Regions from separate parts of the Homo sapiens genome. Here region 1 is linked to region 2. The links are contacts of gene promoters, found by promoter capture Hi-C in blood cells and fetal thymus (Javierre and others, 2016). All regions are on one chromosome and are shown on one strand. Each heading gives the region's core, a stretch centred on a gene start or on the middle of the fragment in contact. The rest is flanking DNA. Distances are from core to core; before and after follow the strand shown.

The links. The method cuts DNA at HindIII sites, captures the fragments that hold promoters and counts their contacts. A CHiCAGO score of 5 or more calls a contact.
Region 1: a contact is called between a fragment that was not itself captured here and the fragment with the promoter of PDCD5 in region 2, in 1 of 17 cell types (total B cells). The highest score is 6.7, in total B cells.

The regions. Positions count from the first base shown.
Region 1 is chr19:29,935,221-29,939,749 of GRCh38, reverse strand. It overlaps a transcript of URI1 not described here. Among named protein-coding and RNA genes, the nearest start is that of URI1, 4.8 kb to the left of the region's middle. The HindIII fragment of the contact is 153 bases long and covers 3,175-3,327 here.
Region 2 is chr19:32,579,145-32,583,847 of GRCh38, reverse strand. PDCD5 (programmed cell death 5) reads right to left here and starts at 2,658. Exons shown (of 6, transcript NM_004708.4): 1 at 2,521-2,658; 2 at 1,616-1,653. The coding sequence starts at 2,586. RefSeq lists silencers at 2,657-2,833, 2,179-2,908 and an enhancer at 3,119-3,208. The HindIII fragment of the contact is 4,450 bases long and covers 2,054-4,703 here.

The DNA of each region.
Region 1 (4,529 bases), core at 2,002-4,501, 2.6 Mb after region 2:
CCATATCTTTCCATGGTTGCCTCCTTGCCATTACTCAGGCCTCAGTTCAAATAATAACAGGGCTTTCTTGATCTCCTGTCCACAAAAGCCCCTCCCCTCTCCTCTAGGCATCTGCCCTCACCTCACTTTTTAAATTTTCTTTGTAGCACTTATCACACTTTCAAATGATCAGCTTTGGCCGGGCGCAGTGGCTCATGCCTGTAATCCCAGCACTTTGGGAGGTGGAGGCAGGCGGATCATTTGAGGTCAGGAGTTTGAGACCAGCCTGGCCAACATGATGAAACCCCATCTCTACTAAAAATACAAAAATTAGCCGCCGTGGTGGCACACACCTGTAATCCCAGCTACTCGGGAGGCTGAGGTAGGAGAATCGCTTGAACCTGGGAGGCAGAGGTTGCAGTGAGCAGAGATCATGCCACTGCACTCCTGCCTGGGCAACAGAATGACACTTCGTCTAAAAAAAAAAAAAAATTGGCAAGGCGCAGTGGCTCACGCCTGTAATCCCAGCACTTTGGGAGGCCAAGGCAGGCAAATCACCTCAGGTCGGGAGTTCAAGACCAGCCTGACCAACATGGATAAACCCCACCTCTACTAAAAATACAAAATTAGCCAGGTGTGGTGGTGCATGCCTGTAATCCCAGCTACTGGGGAGGCTGAGGCAGGAGAATCACTTGAACCCTGGAAGTGGAGGTTGCAGTGAGCCGAGATCATGCCATTGCACCCCAGCCTGGGCAACAAGAGTGAAACTCCTCTCAGAAAAAAAAAAAAATGGTAGGCCAGGCACAGTGGCTCATGTCTGTAATCCCAGCACTTTGGGAGGCTGAGGTGGGCAGATCCTGAGGTCAGGAGATCGAGATCATCCTGGCTAACATGGTGAAACCCCATCTCTACTAAAAACACAAAAAATTAGCCAGGTGTGGTGGCAGTCACCTGTAGTCCCAGCTACTCAGGAGGCTGAGGCAGGAGAATGGCATGAACCCGGGAGGCAGAGCTTGCAGTGAGCCGAGATGGTGCCACTGCACTCCAGCCTGGGTGACAGAGTGAGACTCTGTCTCAAAAAAAAAAAGTAAATATTATTTTATTACCTTATTACTTTATTACTTATTATTGGTTAATCCCTTCTTCATGTGCCAGGCCCCCCACTGGGAATGGGAGACAAGAGTTGACCAAGGCAAGCACCAGCCCTGTTCATAGATGTTGGAGTCAATAGAGGGCCACTAACATGGTTTGGATATTGTTCCCTCAAAATCTCATGTTGAAACGTGATCCCTAATGTTGGAAGTGGGGCCTAGTGGGAGGTGTTTGGGTCTTGGGGGCGGATCCCTCATGAATGGTTTGCTGCTCTTCTGCAGTAATGAGTTCACATGAAAGCTGGTTGTTTAAAAGAGCCTGGCACCTCCTCCTTCCTCTCTTGCTCCCTAGCTCTTACTTCCACTTGCCATGTGACGTGCAGCTCCCCATTTGCCTTCCACCATGATTGGAAGCTTCCTGAGGCCTCACCAGAAACCGAGCAGGTGTTGGTGCCACATGCTTGTATGGCCCACAGAACTGCGAGCCAAATAAACCTCCTTTCTTTACAAATTACCCAGCCTTGGCTGGGCACAATAATTCACATCTGTAATCCCAAAACTTTGGGAGCCCAAAGCAGATGGATCTCCTGAGGTCAGGATTTCGAGACCAGCCTGGCCAATATGGTGAAACCCCATCTCTACTAAAGATACAAAAAATTAGACAGGCAAACCTCATGAGACATGAATAAACAGCCAGGGGAGTTCTTGATGAAAAAAGAGGCTGCTGGTTGTTGGTAAGAGAACAGCAACAGGGTGGATGCAAAACAGCTGCCATGCCCCATTTCTCAGCCCTCACCCTACCATGAGGCTGCAGGAATAGCTTTCCTGGAATGGCTGGCTGGTTGCAAGGTGGGCAAGATGACCCTTGTCCTCCAAAAATTGGGGCATTTTTGAGTCCTGAGGGATTAGCACAGACTCCTGTATTGGTTTCAGCCCTCTTGTGCTTCCTATGGCAGCATCCATCAGGAGATTTGAAAGTAAAGAACACCTTTTTGTAGCCAGAAATTTACAGATATCATTTCCAGGTCACTGGTTGCCTGTAAAGATTATGAAACAAAAACATCAGTAACCACATGCAATAAGGACTACACACTTTGCAAACATAGTTTGGAAAAGTCTCTAAACAAACAGATGGCTGCAACCCTCAACAAGCAAAAATCAGCAATCCCTGAAGAGGAGGAGAATCTGATTTTCAGAGTTACTACAATAATACCCAAAATGCCAAGTGCTCAACAAAATATTACAAAGCATACAAAGAAAAAGGAAAGTATAGCCTATTCACAGGGGGAAAAAAAGAATTCAATAGAAGCCATCCCCAAGGAAGCCTTTACATTGGAAACATTAGTCAAAGACATTAAATCAACTGTCTTACACCCAATGAGCTAAAGGAAACCAAAATAATATATGAACAAATAGGGAAGGCCAATGAAGAGATAGTTTAATCTTATAAAAAGGAACAAAATAGAAATCCTGGAGCCGAAAAGTACAATAGCTTGAACTTAGAAATTCACTAGAGAGATCAAAAAGCTGATCTGAAGAATCAGGAAGAAGAAAGAACCAGTGAACTTGAAGATAAGGCAATTGAAATTGTCCAGTTGTAAAGAGAGAAAAATAAATAACGAAAAATAGGCTGGCCATGGTGGCTCATGCCTGTAATCCCAGCACTTTGGGAGGCCGAGGAGGGTGGATCACTTGAATTCAGGAGTTTGAGATCAGCCTGGCCAACATGGTGAAACCCCATCTCTACTAAAATACAAAAATTAGCCAGGCATTGTGACGCGCACCTGTAACCCTAGCTGCTGGGGAGGCTGAGGCCAGAGAATCACTTGAATCAAGAAGGAGGAGGTTGCAGTGAGCCAAGATCATGCCACTGCACTCCAGCCTGGGCAATAGAGTGAGACTCTATCTCAAAAAAAAGAAAAGGAAAAATGAACAGAGCCTGATAGATCCATGTGATGCCATCAAGCATATATCAACATATGCATAGTAGAAGTTCCTGAAGGAGAAGAGGAACAGGAAGGGACAGAAAAAGAAATTTGAAGAAATAATGGCTGAAAACTTCCCAAATTTGATGAAGGATATGAACATACACGTCCAAGAAGCTTAACAAATTACAAGCGCGAGAAACTCAGAGATTCATACTGAAACTCACAGCCAGATTGTCAAAAATCAGAAACAAAAAGAGAATCTTGAAAGCAGCAAGAGAGGAACAACTTGTAAGGTACAAGGAGTCCTCAGTAACATTAATAGCTAAGCTTTCATCAGAAACCATAGAGGGGCTGGGTGCAGTGGCTCAGGCCTGTAATTCCAGCACTTTGGGAGGCCGAGGTGGGCAGATCGCCTGAGGTCAGGAGTTCGAGACCAGCCTGACCAATATGGCGAAACCCCATTCTACTAAAAATACAAAAATTAGCCAGATGCGGTGGTGGGCACCTGTAATCCTATCTACTTGGGAGGCTGAGGCTGGAGAATTGCTTGAACCTGGGAAGTGGAGGTTTCAGTGAGCCAAGATTGCACCACTGCACTCCAGCCTGGGCACAAGAGCAAAACTCTAAAAAAGCAAAACTCCATCTCAAAAAAAAATTTTTTTTAAGTGCCGGGCACAGTGGCTCACGCCTATAATCCCAGCACTTTGGGAGGCCAAGGCAGGTGGATCATGAGGTCAGGCATTCTAGACCAGCCTGGTCAACATAGTGAAACCCTGTCTCTACTAAAAATACAAAAAACTAGCCAGGCGTGGTGGCGGGTGCCTGTAGTCCCAGCTACTTGGGAGACTGAGGCAGGAGAATTGCTTGAACCTGGAAGGCAGAGGTTGCAGTGAGCCAAGACGGCACCATTTCACTCCAGCCTGGATGACAGTGTGAGACTCCATCTCAAAAAAAAAGAAAAGAGAAAAGAAAAGAAAAGAAAAGAAAAGGAACCAGAGGCCCAGAGGCAGTGGAATAACACAGTTAAAGTCCTGGGGAAAAAAAAAAAAAAGACTGTCAACCAAGAATTTCCTACCAGACAAACTATCCTTCAGGAATAAAGGAGAAATTAAGACATTTTCAGATAAATAAACGCAGAGAAAGCTCATTGCTAGTAGCCCTGCTCTACAAGAGCTGCTAAAATGAATCCATCAGGCTGAAATGAAAGGAAACTTGATAGTAATTCAAAGCCATGATGAGAAAAAAAAAGAACACTGATAAAAATAGTAACTACATACATCAGTAAATATAAAAGCCAGTATTATTGTAGGTTTTGTTCATAATACTTTGTTTTTCACCTATCATTTAAAGGGCAAATGCATGAAACAATAATTATAAATCTATGTTAATGGGCACAGAATGTATAAAGATATGATCTGGGACAATAATAATATAAAGAGGGAGGGAAAGAGATGTATAGGAGCAAAGTATTTGTATACTCTTAAAACTAAGTTAGTATTATTCAAATTAGGGTGTTATAAATTTAAGATGC
Region 2 (4,703 bases), core at 1,409-3,908:
CAACAATAAAAAAAGATGGGGTCTCACTCTGCTGTTCATGCTGGAGTACAGTGGTGCAATCACAGCTCACTGCAGCTATGATCAGCTCAAGCTCCTGTGCTCAAGTGATTCTTCCCCCTCGGCCTCCTGAGTAGCTGGGTCTACAGGCTTCAGTCACCACACCTGGCCTGCCACAAACTATTATATCACAGAACCCTAAGATGCCATCAATTCTAAGATACACCATAGTTTTACGTATCTCTAAAAATGAAAAACCCTAAAATGAGAGGTCTAATAGAGATCTCCATTCAAAACTGGGGTTTCTCGGGAGGCCAAGGTGGGAGGATCACTTGAAGCCAGGAGTTTGAGACCAGCCTGGGTGATATAGCGAGGCTATTAAAAAAAAAAAAAGTTTAAAAAAATTAGCCAGGCATGGTGGTGCACGCCTGTCATCTCAGCTCCTCAGGAGGCTGAGGTGGGAGGATCACTTGAGCCCAGCAGGAGTTTGAGGCTGCAGTGAGTTCTGATCCCACCACTGGGGTATCAAAGAGCAACATTCTCAGTACAAAGTAAAGAATAAATAAATATGCCATGCAGTAAGGGGCAGTACAAAAGCTTGCATGCACCTGGCCCTGACGTAAAGAAGAAAAAAGTTCAGTCTTACAGGGTTGCTGTCTGAATTCACACTACTAGGCAGGAGGCAGGGGAAAACCTCAAGCAGAGAATTTAACTTTCAATGGTCTCAGAAATGTACTCAAGTGATAGCAGAGTCAAAAGTAAATCCCCTCTGGAAGAATCTGGGGCAAGAGCAATCTGTTTTAAAAGGCATCCTGATTTCAGATATGTGACAATGAAAAGATGTACACGGCAGAAATCAATGAAATTTGCGTCGTTTTACTTCCTATCACTACTCCAGATACTTCTCACCGTCTGTCTTCTCCCGAACCCTCCCTTCCTATTTCTGTAGACCCAGCACAGTGCCTGACCCAGAGCAGGTGCTCTATAAATATTTGCTGGAGAGGAGGAGTAAGAAGGTGAGGAAGGGGAAATAGAGAATTGTCCAGTAGCTAAAGGTTTCAGTCTTGCAAGATGAAAACATTCTAGAGTGTGAACACTACTGAAGAGCACACTTAAAAATGGTTGTGATGGTGAAATTTTATTTAACCACAATTTTTAAAAAATGATAGCATGATAGGGTAATCACATACTCATTCAATAAACCTGCCACCGAATCAATTACCTGCATCTGTCTCAGGTGCTGTGCGCTGTGTTGGGATAAAACAATCAGAATAGCTTACCAGTTAACACTTATTGAGCACTTACTAAGTGAGGCACCGGACTCACGTCACCCCCACAGCCGAGGAAACTGCCACAGCTGCCTATTATCAGGCTCATTTTTAAGGTACTCACATTGTAGCAGAGAAACATCAACCAGTAATTGCAATACAAGGTCTGATGTGGAGCTGCACACGTGTTTATTTAACAATAATGAAGATACCCTGCGGATGATTTTGGCCAAATCACCATTCCAGCAAAACAAAAAAATCTGAGTCACACACCTGCTTAAAATAACTACAGCAAAAGAAATCCATTTGGTGAAACCACCCTTCAAAAAGTTCACGTTTCCAGCCCATACCTGTGCTTTGCTTCCTGTTGGGCCGCATCACCAGGATCCTGGAAAAAAAAAACTTAAATTTAATAGAGAAATTTCACGGGAGGCGGCGGGAAAAAGGAACGGTTCTGTTGTTTCCTATACATAACAGTCTCTTGCGGTGGTAGAAACAACTCCCCAAATAAGAAACTGGGCCTCACAGAAATCAATGAACTAGTTCCCACTTACAACGTTTTGATGAACGTCTAAAACCACAACCTCAGAAGGCTTTGGAATACAGAGCACCCTGGGGAGGGGAATCCCTGTATTACGAAACCGTGTTTCACATGTAGGAATAATTTCTGGAAAATAAAACGGGCCTCGGTATTAGGGACAACGATAACTCAAAGACTGCGCCCTCCGTCCCTAAGGTCCCGGTCCCTTATCAGAAACGCCTCTCCGGGCGTGTGATCCATCCAAGCTTCCCAGGCGGCCCCTCCCTGTCATCCCGGCGGGGCAAGCGTTCCTCCGACCCTGCCGCGCTCTCAGCACCGGGAACACAGCGGACCCTCAATACCTGTCGGCTAAACTTGGGTCATAACAACTGAACTCCGGAAAAACTGAATTCGGTCCGGCTGCTGGCTCCAAAAGCTGAGATTGTGCTTGGATCCAGGCCCGCCAGGACGAGCCCGCTCCAGGCTAGGGGACCCCACACCCCAACGCCAGGGCAGGTCCCGCACGTGGCGGCCCCCGCCGCCAGCCTCCTGGGCCCCTCGCGACGAGGAAAGCGACGAGGCCACCTCTGAGCCGGCCACGAGGCCGCCAGGGCAGCGCAGGGGACCGGGGCCCCGGGGAGGCGCCCAGAGCCTCCGCCCCGGAGGCGCGCCCTACACTCCGGGCGAGGGCGGCGCCCCGCGAGGGCCAAGCCTGGCGGGGGCTGATGCGCTCACCCCGTGTTTGGCCTGCAGCTCGGCCAGCCTCTGTCTCCTCAGCGCCTCAAGCTCCTCGTCCGCCATGGCTCGGCGTCAGCGCTGGAGCAGCCGCGGTCACTCTCGCAGCCCCTCGGCGCGAGCGCGGCCTTGACCACTGCGCAGGCGCTCGCGGGGCCCAGGCGCCACCAATCCAGCCCGGAGCCACGCCCCGCGCCGCTGCCAGGGCGCCGGCAGAGGCCCGATTCCCCGATTTCAGGCGGTCGAGCTTGGGCGCACGGAGGGGCGGGGCCTGGGGCGGGGCCTCCGGGATCCACCTCCCACCCGTGATCGGCGCCTCTGCGTGCAGGGACTTGGGCTGCGCTGGGGCGGGGCTGCGCTTTGGAAAGGTTAAAACCTGAAAGTGTGGCATCAACAAGTATAATAATTATGGGTGCAATGTGCTGGTGACCTAGAGGGTTAGGCGTATATTATCTCTATTTATAGATGAGGAACCAGGGGCGCAGGAAGGCTGAGTGGGGTGATGGAAATGTCCTAAAGCTGGATCGTGGCGGTGGCTGCCCGGCTCCTCGGTGCACACAGAGGCCGGCCGGTGGCTCGCCGCCTGTGGTCCCGACGCTTCGGGAGGCGGTAGGGTCATTTGAGGTCAGGAGTTAGAGACCAGCCTGGGCAATATGGCAAGAGCCTATCTCTACTAAAATTTTAAAAAACTAGTTGGGCGCGGTGATGTGCACCTGTAGTCCCAGCTACTCAGGAGGCTGTGTCAGGAGGATCGCTGGAGCCCGGAAGTTCGAGGCTGCAGTGAGCCTTGATCTCGCCACTGCACTCCAGCCTGGGAGACACAGCCAGACCCTGTCTCTAAAAAAAAAAAAAAAAAAAAAAAAAGTGCACATCTGCCTCCTCGCCATCTGCCTCCTCCACGCACAAAAGGGCTTTTCCTGGGAGGATACTGCAGTGGGCAGCTGTGGCTGGTGTAAACTCTTTGGTGGAACAAATCCCTTCTGCCTTTGACTTGGGGGAATTGGGGGCAGAGAGGATATTCAGCTACCTAAACGTGTGACTCATACAGATTCTGTTTGTTTGTCTGTGTGTGTGTTATTTTATTTTTTACATTAAAAAAATACAGATGGGGTCTCGCTATGTTGCCTAGGCTGGCCTCTATCTCCTGAGCTCAAGCAATCCTTTTGCCTCAGCCTCCCAAACTGCTAACATTACAGGCATGAGCCACCACACCTGGCCTGTGTGTTTTAATTGTGGCAAAATATACACAATACAAAATTTACCATTTTCACCATTTTTAGGTGTACTTTTCAGTGGTATGAAATGCATTATCGTGCAGTTGTCACTCAATCTCAGCTCACTGCAACCTCCACCTCCCGGGTTCAAGCGATTCTCCTGCATCAGTCTCCCAAGTAGCTGGGACCACAGGCGTGCACCACTGTGCCCGGCTAATTTTGTATTTTTTAGTAGAGATGGGGTTTCACCATGTTGGTCAAGCTGGTCTCGAACTTCTGACCTAAAGTGATCCACCTGCCTTGGTCTCCCAAAGTGCTGGGATTACAGGCATGAACCACCTTGTCCACCATCAATCTCTACAACTTTTTTTTTTTATCATCCTGAACTGGAACTCTACCCAGTAAAGATTTAGGTTGGTGTGAGGGGCCTCTAATGGGAATGGGTGGGGGTGGGAGGGGTCTGAGAATAATAATCAGTCTCCACCCATTCTCATTCTAGTTTCTATGAATTTGCCTATTCTGGGTATCTTGTATATGTGGAATCATACAATATTTGTCCTTTTGTGACTGGCTTACTCCACCTAGCATATGTCTTAAAGGTTCATTCATGTTGTAGCATGTGGCAGAATTTCTTTCCCTCTTTAGACTGAATATATTCCATTGTATGGATATACCTAGCACATTTTGTTTATCCATTCATCTGACAATGGACACTTAGGTTGCATCCACCTTTTGGCTATTATTAATAATGCAGCTATGAACATGGGTGTAGAAATATCTGTTCAGGTCTGTGCTTTCACTTTTGGATATATACCCAGAAGAGAAATTGTTGGATAATGTGATAATTCTGTGTTGAGGAATGGCCATACCATTTTCCACAGCAACTGCACTATTTTACATTCCAACCAACAGTGAATGAAGGTTCCAATTTCACCGTCTCCTCACCAATATTTGTTGTGTTCTGTTTTT